2 separate regions of the Homo sapiens genome follow, and region 1 is linked to region 2. Evidence: promoter capture Hi-C in 16 types of primary human blood cells and fetal thymus (Javierre and others, 2016). All regions are on one chromosome and are shown on one strand. Each heading gives the region's core, a stretch centred on a gene start or on the middle of the fragment in contact. The rest is flanking DNA. Distances are from core to core; before and after follow the strand shown. Region 1 overlaps PTPRA (protein tyrosine phosphatase receptor type A). Region 2 holds the start of IDH3B (isocitrate dehydrogenase (NAD(+)) 3 non-catalytic subunit beta).

Region 1 (2,700 bases), core at 136-2,635, 320 kb before region 2:
AAAATAAAATAAAACAAGGAGACATTATTAGATCCTCAGCCACCATGTAACAAAACTGCTGGTTGCTTCTTTTTTCCTCTTTCCACACCCTGCTCCCTTAGTCACCTTTTGCCAGGACCCCAACCATGGCAACATCTGGTTTGAAGACATGGCAATCCCACCTCATTCCACAGGGCCTGGCTCCCTTTCACCCAATACCTAGCCTTGTTTTCTCATGCAGCTGGCCAGGCACTGACTCATCCGCCTCCACTCTCACCCTCCACCCGACTCCATGAACTACACCATCAGAGTGGCTTGGTAACTATCTTCACCATTTTCCTACCTGCTAAAAGGGAAGACAAGTCTCTTCCATCCTGTCATGTGTGCTCTGGATTACATCCACTGCTGTCAACTCAAAGACTTGTCTTCTTGACCTCATTTACCCTCCCCCAGCTACCACCAGCCTCGCGTCTCTCTTCTCAGCTGACTTTCCGAAACACAGTTGTCTAATTCGTCTTGTCTAATTCCTTACCTTCAGGTTCTCCTTAATCTATTTGCCCTGACTCCCACCCTCAGTGCTCTGTTTAAACTGCTCAGCCAGAACACCAACAAATGGCATATTGCCAAATCCAACAGGAACATTCCCATCCTCATCTGATTCAACCTTTTAGCAGCATTCATTCAAATATCTGTGGGCCAGCAATTGCATGCCATTGTTTGAGACACTAGGAACAGAGAAGTGTTCAAGGAGACAAGTGATAGAAAGCTTCCATTCTGTGGGGAGGAAGGAAGACACTGTTTATAAACAAGTCAATACTTAATTTTAGACAGGGACAAGTGCTATGAGGAATAAAAAGCAGGGTGGGGAGAGAGAAAGTGACAGGTTGGGGAGCAGTGATACAGTGGTCTGGGAAGGTCTCTCTGAGGAAGTAATATACAAGCAGAGCTCTAAATAACGTGAAGTGAACCACGCAAAGATCTGGGTGAAGAGCTTTCTAGACACTGGGAACAGCAAGCATGGTAGCTCTCAGGAGCTTGGCAGGTTCAAGAAACAGCACAAAGGCCAGTTCAATATAAGATGCCAGAGAGGTGGGCAAAAGCCAGCAGACTTAGGACTTGGGAGTCCATTGTAATGATTGTGGATTTAATTCTGAGTGTGATGAGAAACACTATGTCATCGAAGGGCTTTGAACAGAGGAGATATATAACTGGATTTACATTCTGTTAAAAGCTAAACTGACCCATAAGCAGTAGCCATGAGGTGAGAGGTTAATCTAAGAATGTAGTGTCATAGAAGCCAAGAGCAGAGTTTTTCAAGGAGGGAGCAATCAATTCAATCAAATACTGCCTACAGACTTAAGAAGGATGAGACAGAGAAGTGAAACCAGATTTGACAAGACGGTGGCTACTGGTGACCTTTCCAAGAGTATTTTCAGTTGAATATGGGTGAGAAAGCCTAAATGGAGTGAAATAAAGATAGAAAAAGGACAGTGAGACACTGGGTCCTTTCGTGGGGACTTTTAACATTAAGGGATGCAGAGGAAAGGAATGACAGATGGAGGGAGATGTGAGTGAGGTGGACAGATGGGTTTTTTTTGGTTTTGTTTTTAGAGATGGAAGACATTACATGACGCTTCTTTGTTAATGGTAAGTTTCAAACATACTGTGGTATGTGGCTCTCACCTTAAAATGAGTGTTCAGACTGGCTGATCACTCCTTCCTCTCTGAAGCACTTTCCTCTCTTAGCTTTCCACAACGAAACACTCCTCTGATTTTCCTTCTATCTCGTCTGCCCATCTCAGTTTCCCTCACTATCTGTTCCTCTTCCAACACCAGATCTCTAAATGTGGGAATTCCTCAGGGCTCTGTCCTTGGCACTCTTCTCTATATCTAGTTAATCTGATCAGAGAGATGACTGTAAATATAAATGCCATGCTAGCAATTCCCACAGTTGCTTTGCTTGATCAGACCTCTTTTCTGAGTTCCAGATTCTCAACTGCCTATTTGCCACCTCCACTTTAAATTTCATAGGCAACACAAGCTTTCTGTGTTTAAAACCTTTCCCTCACCATTCAGTAGCTAGTACTCCAACCCACCCTGTTGCTCAAGTAAGAAATGTGGAAACCCCCTTGATTTCTTCCTCACACTTATCTTCTATATCTAGCACAGCTGCAAATAATATATTTTGGAGATATATCTAAAACTTCAAATCTGTCTGCCTTTTTTTTTTTTTTTTTTTGCATTTTTTTTATTGCCACCAGTGTAGTCCCAACCTCCATCCTCTCTCACCTGGATCACAGTAAGCCTCTGCCCCTGCCAATCCATTCTCCACAAAGCAGAGTGATCTCTAGGAAAGCAACTCAGGTTGTGTCCCACTCTTAGGTAAAACCCTCCAACAGTTTCTCATGCCTCAGAATGAAATCTAATCTCCTTATCCTGGACTCTAACAACCCCCTCGATTTAGCCCCTACCTGCCCTATCTCTTGCACTCTTTCCTTGCTCACTCAATTTCAGCCACTGGTGTCCTTCCATGCTTTCATTCATTCATCCTCAGGCCTTTGAGCATGTTATTCCTTCTGCTTTACACAGCCTCTCTCTGTTCTTTGCCTGGTTATCTCCTACTTGTCTGGTTCTCTGTGTGTCACTTTTCCCACACAGGTCTTCTCTGACTTCCTAATACTAAATTAGGATCATAAGTCTCAGTTTCCTCATTTCTGAAAT
Region 2 (2,700 bases), core at 153-2,652:
ACCTAGCTAGTGGTTCTTAAATTTCAGTGTGTATTAACGGGGAGCCTGTTAGAGATATATTTTCTGGGCCCCCATCACTGAGATTTGGATTCAGCAAATGAAGTATGACTCACAAGCCTGCACTTTTAACAAGAGCTCTGGTCCATCTGGATAGGTGATCCAAAACCATACTTCCAGAAGAGCGGGTGAGGCAAATCTTCCTGTACCAGTTTGTCTTTAGGTGTGTCAATTGTACACACCTAAAATCGTGACTGGAGGCCGGGCTTGGTGGCTCACGCCTGTAATCCCAGCACTTTGGGAGGCCGAGGCGGGCGGATCACGACGTCAGGAGATCGAGACCACGGTGAAACCCCGTCTCCACTAAAAATACAAAAAAAAAAAAAAAAAAAAAAAAAAATTAGCCAGGTGTGATGGCGGGCGCTACTCGGGAGGCTGAGGCAGGAGAATGGGGTGAACCCAGGAGGCGGAGCTTGCAGTGAGCCGAGATCGCACCACCGCACTCCAGCCTGGGCGACAGAGCGAGACTCTGTCTCAAAAAAAAAAAAAAAAAAATCGTGACTGTAATTGTTTTGAGACGGGTCTCGCCCCGTCTCCCAGGCTGGAGTGCAGTGGTGCCATCACGGCTCACTACGGCTTCCACCTCCCGGGCTTAAGTGATCCTCCCACCTCAGCCTCCTAAGTAGCTGGGACTACAGGTGTGTCACCACGCCTGGCTAATTTTTAAATTTTTTGTAGAGTCGAGGTCTCCCTATGTTGTCCAGGCTTTTTTTAGTTTTTATGATTGTTACTTTAAGGATCAGTCTGAAATTCCCTTTAGTCACACTTACACGCTTGAACTCATTTCTGACACTAGTTATGGGCCTGTCCTGGGGAGTTCAAGTCCGGGACACACTATTAGGGAAATAACTGTCAGAGCAAAGAACAAAACCCTGTAAGAAAAAACTACGAGGCGACGGGTAATACAGAGGTCCTGGGCACTCTCGGAGACTGGCGGAGAAACCCGACACACACCTCCCATGTCTGTACTGTATTCCTCGAGAGCCTGACATACAGGTATTCAGTGAGTACTGGTTAAAAGAATAACAAACGCATTGACACACAAATTTTAACAGCTTCCCAAGGATTTTCTCTCAATCGCTTGTTAAGCTCAGGTCCTCGTCTGATAAACATGACGCTACATTTTTCCCCCTAATGTTATTTTGAAGTTTCGACGTAGATTAAATATGGCGACTGAAAACAAAGCAAGAGACAAAGTGCTTGCGCATCCCATGACCTCCCCACCGGCAAGGAAAAGGAGAAACAGGCGTGAGCAAGCAGTGCTGGTTGGCGCAGAGAGAGAAATACCAGGAACTCAGTACAGGCCGGAAGTCGGGGTACGGGGCCGCGCCAGCTTCAGGCGTCACTTCCCACGCGACTTCCTGCGGGAAACATGGCGGCATTGAGCGGAGTCCGCTGGCTGACCCGAGTGAGGCCCCGGGACATGTCGGGCAGGGGCGGGCGAAGGAGCGGAGAGTTTGTCCTAGGGTTTCCTAAACAGGGCAAAGTCAACTGTAGTGTTCGGGGTCTGGATGTCTCAAAGCTGACCTTACAGGCTTGTGTGTCCCTGTTGCAGGCGCTGGTCTCCGCCGGGAACCCTGGGGCATGGAGAGGTCTGAGTACCTCGGCCGCGGCGCACGCTGCATCGCGGAGCCAGGTATGCACGAATCTGGCTGGGGTCTCTCTTACGACCCTGTCCCTTCCTCGCTGCTCCCTCCCCTGGCTTTTCCCCACCCCTCCCGGGTCTCCCTACTTCTCTACTCCCAGGATCCGTGCTCCCGCCCCAGCTCTATCTTTACTTCTCCCCTCTTCCCCCAATTGAGGCCGAGGACGTGAGGGTGGAGGGCTCCTTTCCCGTGACCATGCTTCCGGGAGACGGTGTGGGGCCTGAGCTGATGCACGCCGTCAAGGAGGTGTTCAAGGTGAGTGGCCTCGGGGATCAGACAGTAGAGGACAGTAGTGTGTTGGAAAGGACTTGGCCTTGACTGTGATGTTTTGGGAACCTGTCTCTGAAGGCTGCCGCTGTCCCAGTGGAGTTCCAGGAGCACCACCTGAGTGAGGTGCAGAATATGGCATCTGAGGAGAAGCTGGAGCAGGTGCTGAGTTCCATGAAGGAGAACAAAGTGGCCATCATTGGTATGTGTGCCCTCTTGCCACTTGTCCATGTGCCATTTAAAATCAAATGACCAAATGTTTATTAAGCCCTTCTCCCCACATGCTATGCAATTATATTAACTCCAGGGCAACCACCATTGGTATTTGGACATTTGTTCCTTCCCATTGGGAGCCCAGGAGTTGAGAGATCATGTCAGCTGTCTATGCAGAAAAGTTCCAGGGGTTCTGAGTCTGTCCTGAGGCTACATCAACTGTCATCAAATCTTATTCATTGCATTTCTGGAATACCACTTTTAGCTGCCCCTTTTCTTTTTTTTTTTTTCCCCTCCCTTCCTTCCTCTTTGTTTCTTCTTGCTCTGTCGCCCAGGCTGGAGTGCAGTGGCGCGATCTCGGCTCACTGCAACCTCCCCGTCCCTGGTTCAAGCAATTCTCCTGCCTCAGCCTCCTGAGTAGCTGCGACTACAGGTGTGCACCACCACACCCAGCTAATTTTTGTGTTTGTTTTGTTTTAAGACAGAGTCTCGCTCTGTCGCCCAGGCTGGAGTGCAA

What was found. Contacts are between HindIII fragments. The CHiCAGO score rates a contact against its expected background, and 5 or more counts as called.
Region 1: a fragment that was not itself captured here is called in contact with the fragment with the promoter of IDH3B in region 2 in 4 of 17 cell types (naive CD4 T cells, total CD8 T cells, total CD4 T cells and 1 more); the score reaches 5.7 in naive CD4 T cells.

What each region holds. Positions count from the first base shown.
Region 1 is chr20:2,983,087-2,985,786 of GRCh38, reverse strand. The region is part of intron 6 of PTPRA (protein tyrosine phosphatase receptor type A); the gene reads right to left. Among named protein-coding and RNA genes, the nearest start is that of GNRH2, 59 kb to the left of the region's middle. The HindIII fragment of the contact is 1,275 bases long and covers 748-2,022 here.
Region 2 is chr20:2,662,918-2,665,617 of GRCh38, reverse strand. It overlaps IDH3B (isocitrate dehydrogenase (NAD(+)) 3 non-catalytic subunit beta), which reads left to right and starts at 1,402. Exons shown (of 12, transcript NM_006899.5): 1 at 1,402-1,465; 2 at 1,613-1,693; 3 at 1,860-1,958; 4 at 2,052-2,172. The coding sequence starts at 1,430. It overlaps IDH3B-DT (IDH3B divergent transcript), which reads right to left and starts at 1,344. Exons shown (of 3, transcript NR_186432.1): 1 at 1,012-1,344; 2 at 114-360. RefSeq lists enhancers at 1-764, 2,338-2,700. The HindIII fragment of the contact is 11,157 bases long and covers 1-2,700 here.